Linked DNA regions of Homo sapiens: region 2 is linked to region 1. Evidence: promoter capture Hi-C in human tissues and cell types (Jung and others, 2019). All regions are on one chromosome and are shown on one strand. The core of a region is centred on a gene start or on the middle of the fragment in contact, and the rest is flanking DNA. Distances in the headings are between cores, read along the strand shown. Region 1 holds the start of LOC124902700 (a long non-coding RNA gene). Region 2 holds the start of GAL (galanin and GMAP prepropeptide).

Region 1 (4,981 bases), core at 983-3,482:
CCACACCTGGCTAAGTTTTATATTTTTAGTAGAGACAGGATTTCACCATGTTGCCCAGTCTGTAGGTCCTGGAAAGAGGAAAGATCTAAATCTGGCCCTGGTCTTACCCATATTCACTCATTGGATCATGCATTCATGCATTCTGCAAATATGTATTGAGCCCCCATACTTGTGCCAGCACTATTCTAGACACTGGGACTCTCAGGGAGTGAACAGAGCATTTTAACCAAGCTACAAATTCTAGTGAGAGAGGTGGTCAAGAAACAGATTCATGTGAAAAGTGCAAAGGAGGCCAGATGCGGTGGCTTAAGCCTGTAATCCCAATACTTTGGGAGACAGAGGTGGGTGGACCACGAGGTCAGGAGTTCGAGACCAGCCTGGCCAACATGGCGAAACCCCTGTCTCTACTAAAAATACAAAAATTAGCCAGGCATGATGGCAGGTGCCTGTAATCCCAACTACTCGGGACCCTGAAGCAGGAGAATCGCTTGAACCTGGGAGGCGGAGGGTGCAGTGAGCTGAGATCGTGCCATTGCACTCCAGCCTGGGCGACAAGAGCAAGACTCCATCTAAAAATAAAAATAAAAATAAAAAATAAAAAAATAAAAAGCAAAGGAGAAAAACAAACCAGGGAGTCGGGCAGAGTGTGGCTCTGGCATGGGGTGGGTGGGGACTAGCTTACAGATTTGATAGACCATAAGCCCCCTAGGGCTGGAAACCCTGGAAACCAGAACCAGATACATAACTTGGGTTTCAGAAATGTTAGCTGAATGACTGAGTGATGGTTGGGATGGACGGGTGGAGGGTTGGGGCTCTGCAGGCTTAGCTGCCTGGTGCCCCTCCATCTGGCCCTTCCCTTCCAGGCCCTCACCCCATTTCCATGTCTCCCACAGGAACCTCTAAACTGTCCCCATGTGTGCCCTTCTTCGCGGTCACCTTCTGTGCCCCAACATCTTTGAGGCAATCTGTGGCCTCCAGGCAGAACAGGCTTCAAAATTTGTCAAGCAAAGTGAAATGAAGGCTGAGACCTTTGATCAAAAACTATGAAGAATTTCAAGCTGAGGTGGGAAGATCGCTTGAAACCAGGAGTTTGAGACCAGCCTGGGCAACAAAGCCAGACCTTGTCTCTACCAAAAATAAAAAATTACCTGGTGGTGTGCCTGTAGTCCCAGCTACTTGAGAGGCTGAGGTAAGAGAATGGCTTCAGCTTGAGCCCAGGAGTTCGAGGCTGCAGTGAGCTATGATCGCACCACTGCACTCCAGCCTGGGTGACAGAGCTCTCGAGACTCAGTCTCCAAAATAAATAAATACATAAAATTGAAAAAAATTTTAAAAAACAAGAAAGGAATTTCAAGCCAGTGACTGCAGAGCATGAAACTAACCACGAAGCCCTGTTAAGTTCTCCCCTTGTGTGACTGTGCGAGTTGCATTTCCCGGAAGCTGGCCCTTCCTCTCAGGCAGGCCGGAAAGACCTCCTAGAGATCTGTGCCCAAACGACCTTTCCAACCTGGGCTCACAAACCTCACTGGGCTCTGTGCTCTCTCCACTGAAAACCTCACCCCACCTCCTGCCTCTGAGCATCTGTTCTCGCTGTTCCCTCTGCCCAGCGTGCCTTTCCACTCACTTCTTCTTGTTTTTGTGCACAGCCATGGATCAGGTGCCAGGAGAGGAGACGGAGGCAAAGCAGGGCCAGTCAGCTCTCCAGAGAAGACACTCTCAGAGGGCAGCTGCAGCCTTGCTCCACTGCAAGGCTCAAGCAGAAGCTTCCTCTGCTGCAAAATGGAGCAGCCATAAGAACCACGATGCAGGATCTGAGGTGCAACTCTGCTAAGCTCTCTGTCTTTTTTTTTTTTTTTTAGATGAAGTCTTGATCTCTTGCTCTGTCGCACAGACTGGAGTGCAGTGTTGAGATCTCGGCTCACTGCAACTCCGCCTCCCGGGTTCAAGCGATTCTCCTGCCTCAGCCTCCCAAGTAGCTGGATTACAGGTGGGCGCCACCACGTCCTGCTAATTTTTGTTGTTGTTTTGTTTTTTTTGTTTTGTTTTGTTTTGTTTTTTGAGATGGAGTTTTTGCTCTTGTTGCCCAGGCTGGAGTGCAATGGTGCGATCTTGGCTCACGGCCACCTCTGCCTCCCGGGTTCAAGTGATTCTTCTGCCTCAGCCTCCCGAGTAACTGGGATAACAGGTATGTATCACCATGCCTGGCTAATTTTGTATTTTTAGTAGAGAAGGGGTTTCTCCATGTTGGTCAGGCTGGTCTCGAACTCCCAACCTCAGGTGATCCACCCACCTTGGCCTCCTAAAGTGCTGGGATTACAGGTGTGAGCCACTGTGTCTGGCCATTTGTGTATTTTTAGTGGAGATGAGGTTTTGCCATTTTAGCTAAGCTGGTCTCGAACTCCTGACCTCAGGTGATCCACCCGCCTCGGCCTCCCAAAGTGCTGGGATTGCAGGTGTGAGCCACTGCGCCTGGCCCTGCTAAGCTCTCTTTTTTTTAATCTACTGAGATTTGACTCACATACCATAAAGTTCACTGTTTTCAAGTGTACAATTCAATCGATTTTGGTATATACACAGGGTTGTGCAACCACCACCACAATCTAATTTCCTAAACATTTTCCCCTAAACAAAACACTCAACCCATTAGCAGCCTTTCTCCCCATGTTCCCCACCCGGGGCAGCCACCAGTCCACTTTTTGTCAAATTCACATATGGATTTGCCTATTTTGCACATTTCATAGGAATGGGATCCTACAACATGTGGTCGTTGGTGACTGCCTTTTTTCACTGAGTATCATGTCTTCAGGGTTCACCAATGTTGTAGCCTGGGTCGGTGTTTCACTCCTTTGTATAGCTGAATAGTACTCTGTTTGTCCGGACAGACCACATTGGATGCGTCCATTCATGATAGGACAGATGCGCACAGTACAGCACTTTCAGTCTGCCTGGGAGGTGGGTGTGGGTGCCCGGACCTCCCACGCTGACCTTGATCCTGAAATATAACCCAATGGCTGTCTCCTTTCCCTTCTGGAAGATTCCCACTCAGCCTTCAAGGTCCACTCGGAGGTCACTTGCGTCCCCCCATTACCCCAAATAGACATAATGCCTTCCTCCGCTGTGCTTGCAGTGAGGCTTCTTCCTTGTCTAAGACCCACCCGTCTCTCCCCCCTCGCCGCTCCAGTCCGAAACTGCGATTGTCCTGTTTCTGGGGTCCTGGGCGTCTCCAACCCCCCAAAACGTTTGTGCATTGGAAAAATGGGGAATTGGCTGGGCGCTCATTGGCTGCCGGAGAAGCTAATTGTTTCCTTGAAGTCACAGGTTTCGGACGGAGGAAAGAAGAGTTGGGGTATTCTGGCGGTAGGGACCGGTGGGGAGGAGGAAGTGACCCTCCTCTAAGGCCCAGGGTCGGGGGAGGTGGGGAGGGAGCGGCCGACCGGCCGAATAGCGCTGCTTTCTTTGTTTTTCATGCAACATAATTCCATGGCCAGTCCAGGCGCTGCAGCCCCCTCCCCTGCCGGCCCCGGCGCCCGCGCAGGACCGCAGAGGGGCTGGGGGTCCAGGGCGCAGTCTAGTTCCAGGGCGCCCGCGCAGCCGCGGGTCCTTCCCTCTGGGAAGGAGCTGGCGGAGGCTAGGGAGGGGGCGTGCGGGTGTCCCCCGCCTTCCTCAGCTCCTCTAAGCGCCCATGGAGAGCCCCAGTTCCGTCCCAGGCTCTCCCTCGGCTCCTCTTTTTATTTATTTATTTATTTGTTTGTTTGTTTATTTATTTATGATGGAGTCTCGCTCTGTCGCCCAGGCTGGAGCACAATGGCATGATCTCGGCTCACTGCAACCTCTGCCTCCCCGGTTCAAGCGAATCTCCTGCCTCAGCCTCCTGAGTAGCTGGGATTACAGACGCTCGCCACTACACCCGGCTAATGTTTGTATTTTTAGTAGAGACGGGGTTTCACCATATTGGCCAGGCTGGTCTCGAACTCCTGACCTCGTGATCCGCCCGCCTCGGCTTCCCAAAGTGCTGGGATCCTCGGCTCCTCTTTTGCAGACGAGGAGGCGCAGGGGCGAGTGGGGAGGGCGTCCTCGGTGAGCGCGCGAATACCCTCCTGAGTCAGCTGGGTCGGCGGCGGCTGGCAGGAGAGGCCCCCCACGGCCGGGGCGATAGCTGAAGGTGGAGGTTGACCCAGGCTGCGCCCGGGTGGAAGAAGTTAGACTGCAGGAGGGACCAGCGGGCATTGGCGTGAACCCCTCAGTCGCCCCTCCAGAGTGTGAAATTGCCTCTTTGCCCGACGCCGGGCTGGGACTGGGGGTGGGGAGAGACGGAGCAGGGATGGCCGCCCGCTGCCCGGTGCGCTTCCCGGAGCTGCGCAGAGCCCCGAGACCCGGAGGGAGGACCGAGCGCGCTGCGCGAGCACCCCCGGTCGCCTGCCGGCGCTCAGCACCGAGCACTTTTTCCTGCTCCGGGTGTTCTCGGTCCACCCTGCAGCCCAGCCCCGGCGGACCCGCCCCCGGCCCGGCCCAGCGTCCCCAGGGGCTCCCGGCCCACCCCGTCCGTTCTGGAGCGAGAGTTCACTCCCCGGGCTGACTGCTCCAAGCCCCCTTTATTAGAAGCATTCCTTGTGGAAAAACAGGAAACACTGACCTGTAAAACAAAACGCTTATTAAAATCGCCTGGAATCTTGTTGCCTGATTAGCATGCCGCTCTGCTTCCTGTTTTTGGTCTGTGCTACTTTCCATATAGTTTTCTCAACTCTTTTTGTGCGCGCTAACAAAATGGAAGTCACTTGGTATATAAGCGTTTCTGCTCGTTATTTTTTAACATTTATATTTATAAACGTTGTTTTCCTCGAGTAATAAATACAATCTCTTGAGAAGACACCGAAACTGAACAGCGAAGCCCCGTGGCCCCTCTCCCTCCCACACCCTTCCACTCCCCCTCTGGAAGTAAGCACAGTTGTGAGTCGGCTGTGTATTCTCCCAGTCTTTTTCG
Region 2 (4,615 bases), core at 23-2,522, 170 kb before region 1:
CCACAGATGTGACATCAACCCATCTGATATTGAGCCCAGTGGGTGGGGAGATCCTAACCCAGCTGCTGCTGTTGAGGACTTGGGTGGTGTCTGGCCAGTGGGAGGGGAGGTCAGGCGAGTTTTCAGCAGATGACCCCGTGCTCTTCGGAAGCCCGGAGGTGCCACACTGTACAAGTGTGATGCCTGGGATCCTGTGCTCCCCTGATGCCTGGGAATGGGGTGAAGGAACAGCCTAGGCTTGGGTTCTCTCCTGGGTTGTTTCGGGACTTGGCCCCAGCTCAGGAAGGGTTTGTGGAGGAGCCAAGGAGGGCCTTGTTCCTGTGGGATGTCTTTGCCTTGGGCACAAGGACAGCCTCTTGCTGCTGCTCTGCCCACCGCCCACCCCTTGGCGGCCTCTGGGAGTCTGGGCTGCTCTCCCTCTGGACCTAACCAGTTGCCCAATGGCTGGACCTGCTTAAAGCTCCCTCTTACAACTGGACCAGGCAGCCAGGGGAGGCACTGAGAGGCCGAGCTTCTGAGCTGGTGCCTGTGGATGCTCGACGGTCCCGCAGCTCCCACAATGGGATGGCCAAGCAGACCCTGAGATCCACAGCCCCCCTTTAGTGAAACAGGAGGGAGGTCGCTGGGCACAGGGAGCCGGGAACGCCTGCCCTCCCCGCCATCGACGGCTCCCGAGGCCTGAACCTTCGCTCCAGCCCCAGCACAAGCCGGCCAGGGCGCAGGGCCAAGTGTTGCCCGCCATTCCCCGGGTACCCCATGACCTCCCAGCTGGGGCTGGCTCGGACTGAGGAGTCGTCCCTGCCCGTCACCCTCTGGGGTCTCCAGTGCTGCGGAGCTCAGCTGGCTTTTGCAGCGGTAGGGGCTGGGAGGAGAAGCTGCAGGGAGACCGCAGGCGTGGGACGTTGTGGGGGGTCAGGCTTGCTCTGGGGCTGGGACCCCGGGGGGAGCAGTGGGGTTGACGCCACAGCGATGACTTGGGCCACGGGTCTGGGGGCTCTCCCGCGGGGCGATTGGGCTCTGTCTTTCGGGATTAGGGTCTCTCCCACAGGGTTTGGGGTTCTCTCTGCAGATTTGGGGGAGTCTCTCCCGCGGGATGAGGGGGGGCTCTCCGCCGCACCCGCCTATGATGGCCCAGAGGACCCGAGCTCGGGTCACTCCCGTCGCCCTCGGGGCTCGGCGAGGGTGCAGGAGGCGGGCGCTGAGCCGGTGACGCGACTCCGGGCGGCTCCCGGGTGCGCCGCATATATAGCAGCGGCGGCGGTGGCGGCGGCCACACCGGGCGGCGGACACGTGGAGGGACCCGGCCCGCGCCTTCTGCCCCTGCTGCCGGCCGCGCCATGCGGTGAGCGCCCCAGGCCGCCAGAGCCCACCCGACCCGGCCCGACGCCCGGACCTGCCGCCCAGACCCGCCACCGCACCCGGACCCCGACGCTCCGAACCCGGGCGCAGCCGCAGCTCAAGGTACTACTGGCGCCGGGCCGACCCTGCGCCCCCGGGAGGCCTCCCCTTCGGCTTTCCTCTGCCCAGGGACGGTTCTGCCAGGGCCCTGGCCCGGCCGCCGCCTCTGCTCCTCCCCGCAGCCCCGGCACTCCTTGCCTCGGGGCGCAGCCCACTCCGGGTTCCGACCCGCCCGCCCTGTCCTTCCCTTCCAGATGGCCCGAGGCAGCGCCCTCCTGCTCGCCTCCCTCCTCCTCGCCGCGGCCCTTTCTGCCTCTGCGGGGCTCTGGTCGCCGGTAAGTGCGGGGCGCGTCTCCTCCGAGCGAAGGGGACATCAGAGCCGGCCGGGCGTGGAGGGCTTCCTGGAGGAGGCAGCCTCCGCCCTGCCCGCGGGGATGGGGGTGGAAAGTGGAAAGGCGGGCGCTGTCCTGGCTGCGGGCGTCGCGGGAAGGGTCCGGGGCTCCCTGGGATTCCCCCCGCGCGCTTCTCCGAGTGTATCAACAGCCCCGGGCTATAACCAGGCCGCCGGGAGAGCTCTGCGCTTCGGGTCAGCGCCTCGGGAAAGCGAGAAGCTCGCCCGTTCCGCAGGGCTTAGTTAGAATGGAGGGCTAGGAGCCACTGGCGTGGCCTCAGCGTCACTAAAGCAGGTGCAGTGCGCTGAGAGTGCGCGGGCTCAGGCCCTCAAGTGAAGTATTTCGTAAATAAAGTGGTTCCATTTTCATGTCAAATATAGCCGACTTAGGGGTAAACCTGGAATTTCGCGAGCTATCCAAAAGCACATGCATTGTTCTAAGTCCTCTGCCATGCCGGGAAAGCCTGGGTGCACCCATTCAGCATAGGCTCCAGGCACAGCCCTGGCATCTGATCCCCTTTTCTCCCTTCAAGGCCAAGGAAAAACGAGGCTGGACCCTGAACAGCGCGGGCTACCTGCTGGGCCCACGTAAGTGACTGACAGCATGGCCTCCCCACTCCTGACCCCACCTGCCCCTCGCTTTGAACCCTGGCTCCTGCCCCTCCGCCTGCGGCTGGGCAGACCCTCTGGCCTCCCTCTTGACCTCATTGCCCGTCTCCATTGCTCTGCACACTTGATCTGTGTACGGTTCTTTCCAGAAGCTTCTCCTGCCCCGGCTCTGCCGCCCTGTCCCGGGGTGAGATTCCCACCCTGGGCTTTGCTCAAGTTCTCCTGGGCTTTCCCGCCTTGCAGTCCTTACAGGCCCTGTTCTGGGCCTCTCCCCAGGCCCCCGGGTCTCCCAAAACACTCAACTCCTCGGCTTGCAGAGCACCCTAGGTCAGCGGACCCCAAATCCTGCCTCCCTCTTCCCTTTCTCCAAGCTCCACACGGGAATTGCCAGATCGCCTGAAGGCAGCCCAGACAGGCTCCCCTCAAAACAAGGTTCAGGTGACCCTGCCTGCCCAAGCCTGTGTCCCCTCCCTCTCCCTGTCCTGTTGTTGTCACCTGTGTCAGCGGTGTCCCCTGCTGCCTGAGGTGAGCCCTAGCCCTAGATGGGACACTGCAGGCTGACACCTCCCCGTGTCCGCCCCCGCCCCTGTCCCAGGCCTCTACTTTCTCCACATCCTTGGTCTGTGCAGCAATGCCTTCTGACTTTCCTCCAAAGGAGGGGACAAGAGGAGGCCTTGGTTCCCTCCTGTAACTCACCTTCCCCTCCACACCTCACCATCCACCTTAAAAGCCTCCCTGTACTGCCTTCTGCCAGAGGAAGGATGTGAACAGCACGCAGGGCCTATCTGAGCCCCGCGGAGCAGCAAATGGGGAGAATGGTGCTCTTCTCCCCATGCCAAGGAAAGCTGACTTAGTTCTCAGTCCCAGAGTCGAATACAGCTTCCTCCTCCTGCAGACGCTTGTTTATCGGGGTCACTCAGAGGACCCCCAGAGTCAGGCTTTAAGAAACAGACACGGGGATGACAGAGCCGCCTGAGGCCGCGTGCGGATCGGTCCAGGCTGTTCACCACAGAGCCTGCTGGTCTCTGTGCGGCCCTCTCATCCTCTCCCTGCCCATGGAGTGGCCTGACCTGCCTGAGGGTCGGCTGATTTCCTCAACCCTTTGCAACCCTGAGCTCTGCCACTCAGAGGGCACCTCATCTTTGTGTGCTACGGGCCCAAAACAAAGGCAGAACTGGTCAATGAGAACATTTATCTGTGTTGCTTTGGAATATTGAAAATCTATTTGTCAAGAAGAGTTTGACCCCTAATTAGAAAACAAACTCATTTTCGCCATCAATTTTACGGCCCTGTTCAGCTGTAGCTAGACGAGTTGTTTGTCAAAATACTTAAAAATGTGCCTTTGATTTCTAGGATCTGCTAGAAATGCAGCAAAAGCAATGTTTTTGCACCAGCTGCTGCTGAACGCAGTGTGGCCGTGGCTGAGGGTGCATCAGTGACATGAGGCGACCTATGATTCCTCTATAAATTTAGCACCAAGAACGGCATCTCTGGAAATACGCGTTAATTCTCCTTTGTCTGGCCTTGTAGATGGCACAGTCCACCCAGGCCAACCAGCTGGAAACACAGAGGCGTCCTCACCCTCGTCCCCATCTCTCATTTCCATTTCCTTTCCTGCACAGCCCCAAATCCAGCCCTCCTCTTCACCCCACGCCTCTTGGTTTACAGCCTTCATCGTTTCTTCCCTGGAATTCTGGGATCTCTGTGCTTGCAATCACAGTTCCTCCATTTTCGCACCACGAAACACACCCACACACACACGGGAACGCACACACGCTCCTGCACCCCCCACCCCCATCCTGTCTCCCTCTGTGACCCTCTCGCTCCCTCTGTCTCTCTCCTTCTCTCTCTCTGGCTCCAGTCCATCTTGCACACAGCTGCCAGAGTGAAAATAAAAATCAGATTCAGTCACAACTTAAACTCTTCAGCGTCCCCCATGCTTTCAGGGACATGAGGACCCAGCTCCTGTTGTCTGCCAGGGAGTCACCCAGTTTGATGCCAGCTCAGTGCCAGCTCAGATGCCAGCTCCTCTGGACCCAGGCGCAACCCCTGCAACAGGGCAGGTTCTGGGCCTCTCCCCCACTTCAGGAGCCACACCTCCCTTTCTCCCACCCACCCTGTGCAAACCCTCACATTCCCTTTGACCCTGGTGTGAGCGGCCAAGCTCTTACCTCAGCTGGGTGGAGAATCGCTCCCTCTGCTCTGGTGTCTGTCCCT

What was found. The method cuts DNA at HindIII sites, captures the fragments that hold promoters and counts their contacts. A contact is called where the count stands out against the background at its distance.
Region 2: the fragment with the promoter of GAL here is called in contact with a fragment that was not itself captured in region 1 in 3 of the 25 tissues and cell types used here (lymphoblastoid cells, mesendoderm cells and psoas muscle).

The regions. Positions count from the first base shown.
Region 1 is chr11:68,851,215-68,856,195 of GRCh38, forward strand. LOC124902700 (a long non-coding RNA gene) reads left to right here and starts at 2,152. Exons shown (of 3, transcript XR_007062752.1): 1 at 2,152-2,185. RefSeq lists a silencer at 4,376-4,435. The HindIII fragment of the contact is 8,710 bases long and covers 1-4,981 here.
Region 2 is chr11:68,683,272-68,687,886 of GRCh38, forward strand. GAL (galanin and GMAP prepropeptide) reads left to right here and starts at 1,273. Exons shown (of 6, transcript NM_015973.5): 1 at 1,273-1,461; 2 at 1,653-1,733; 3 at 2,323-2,377. The coding sequence starts at 1,653. It overlaps LOC107984343 (a long non-coding RNA gene), which reads right to left. Exons shown (of 3, transcript XR_001748281.1): 2 at 4,570-4,615. RefSeq lists enhancers at 1-667, 1,344-2,019. The HindIII fragment of the contact is 15,033 bases long and covers 1-4,065 here.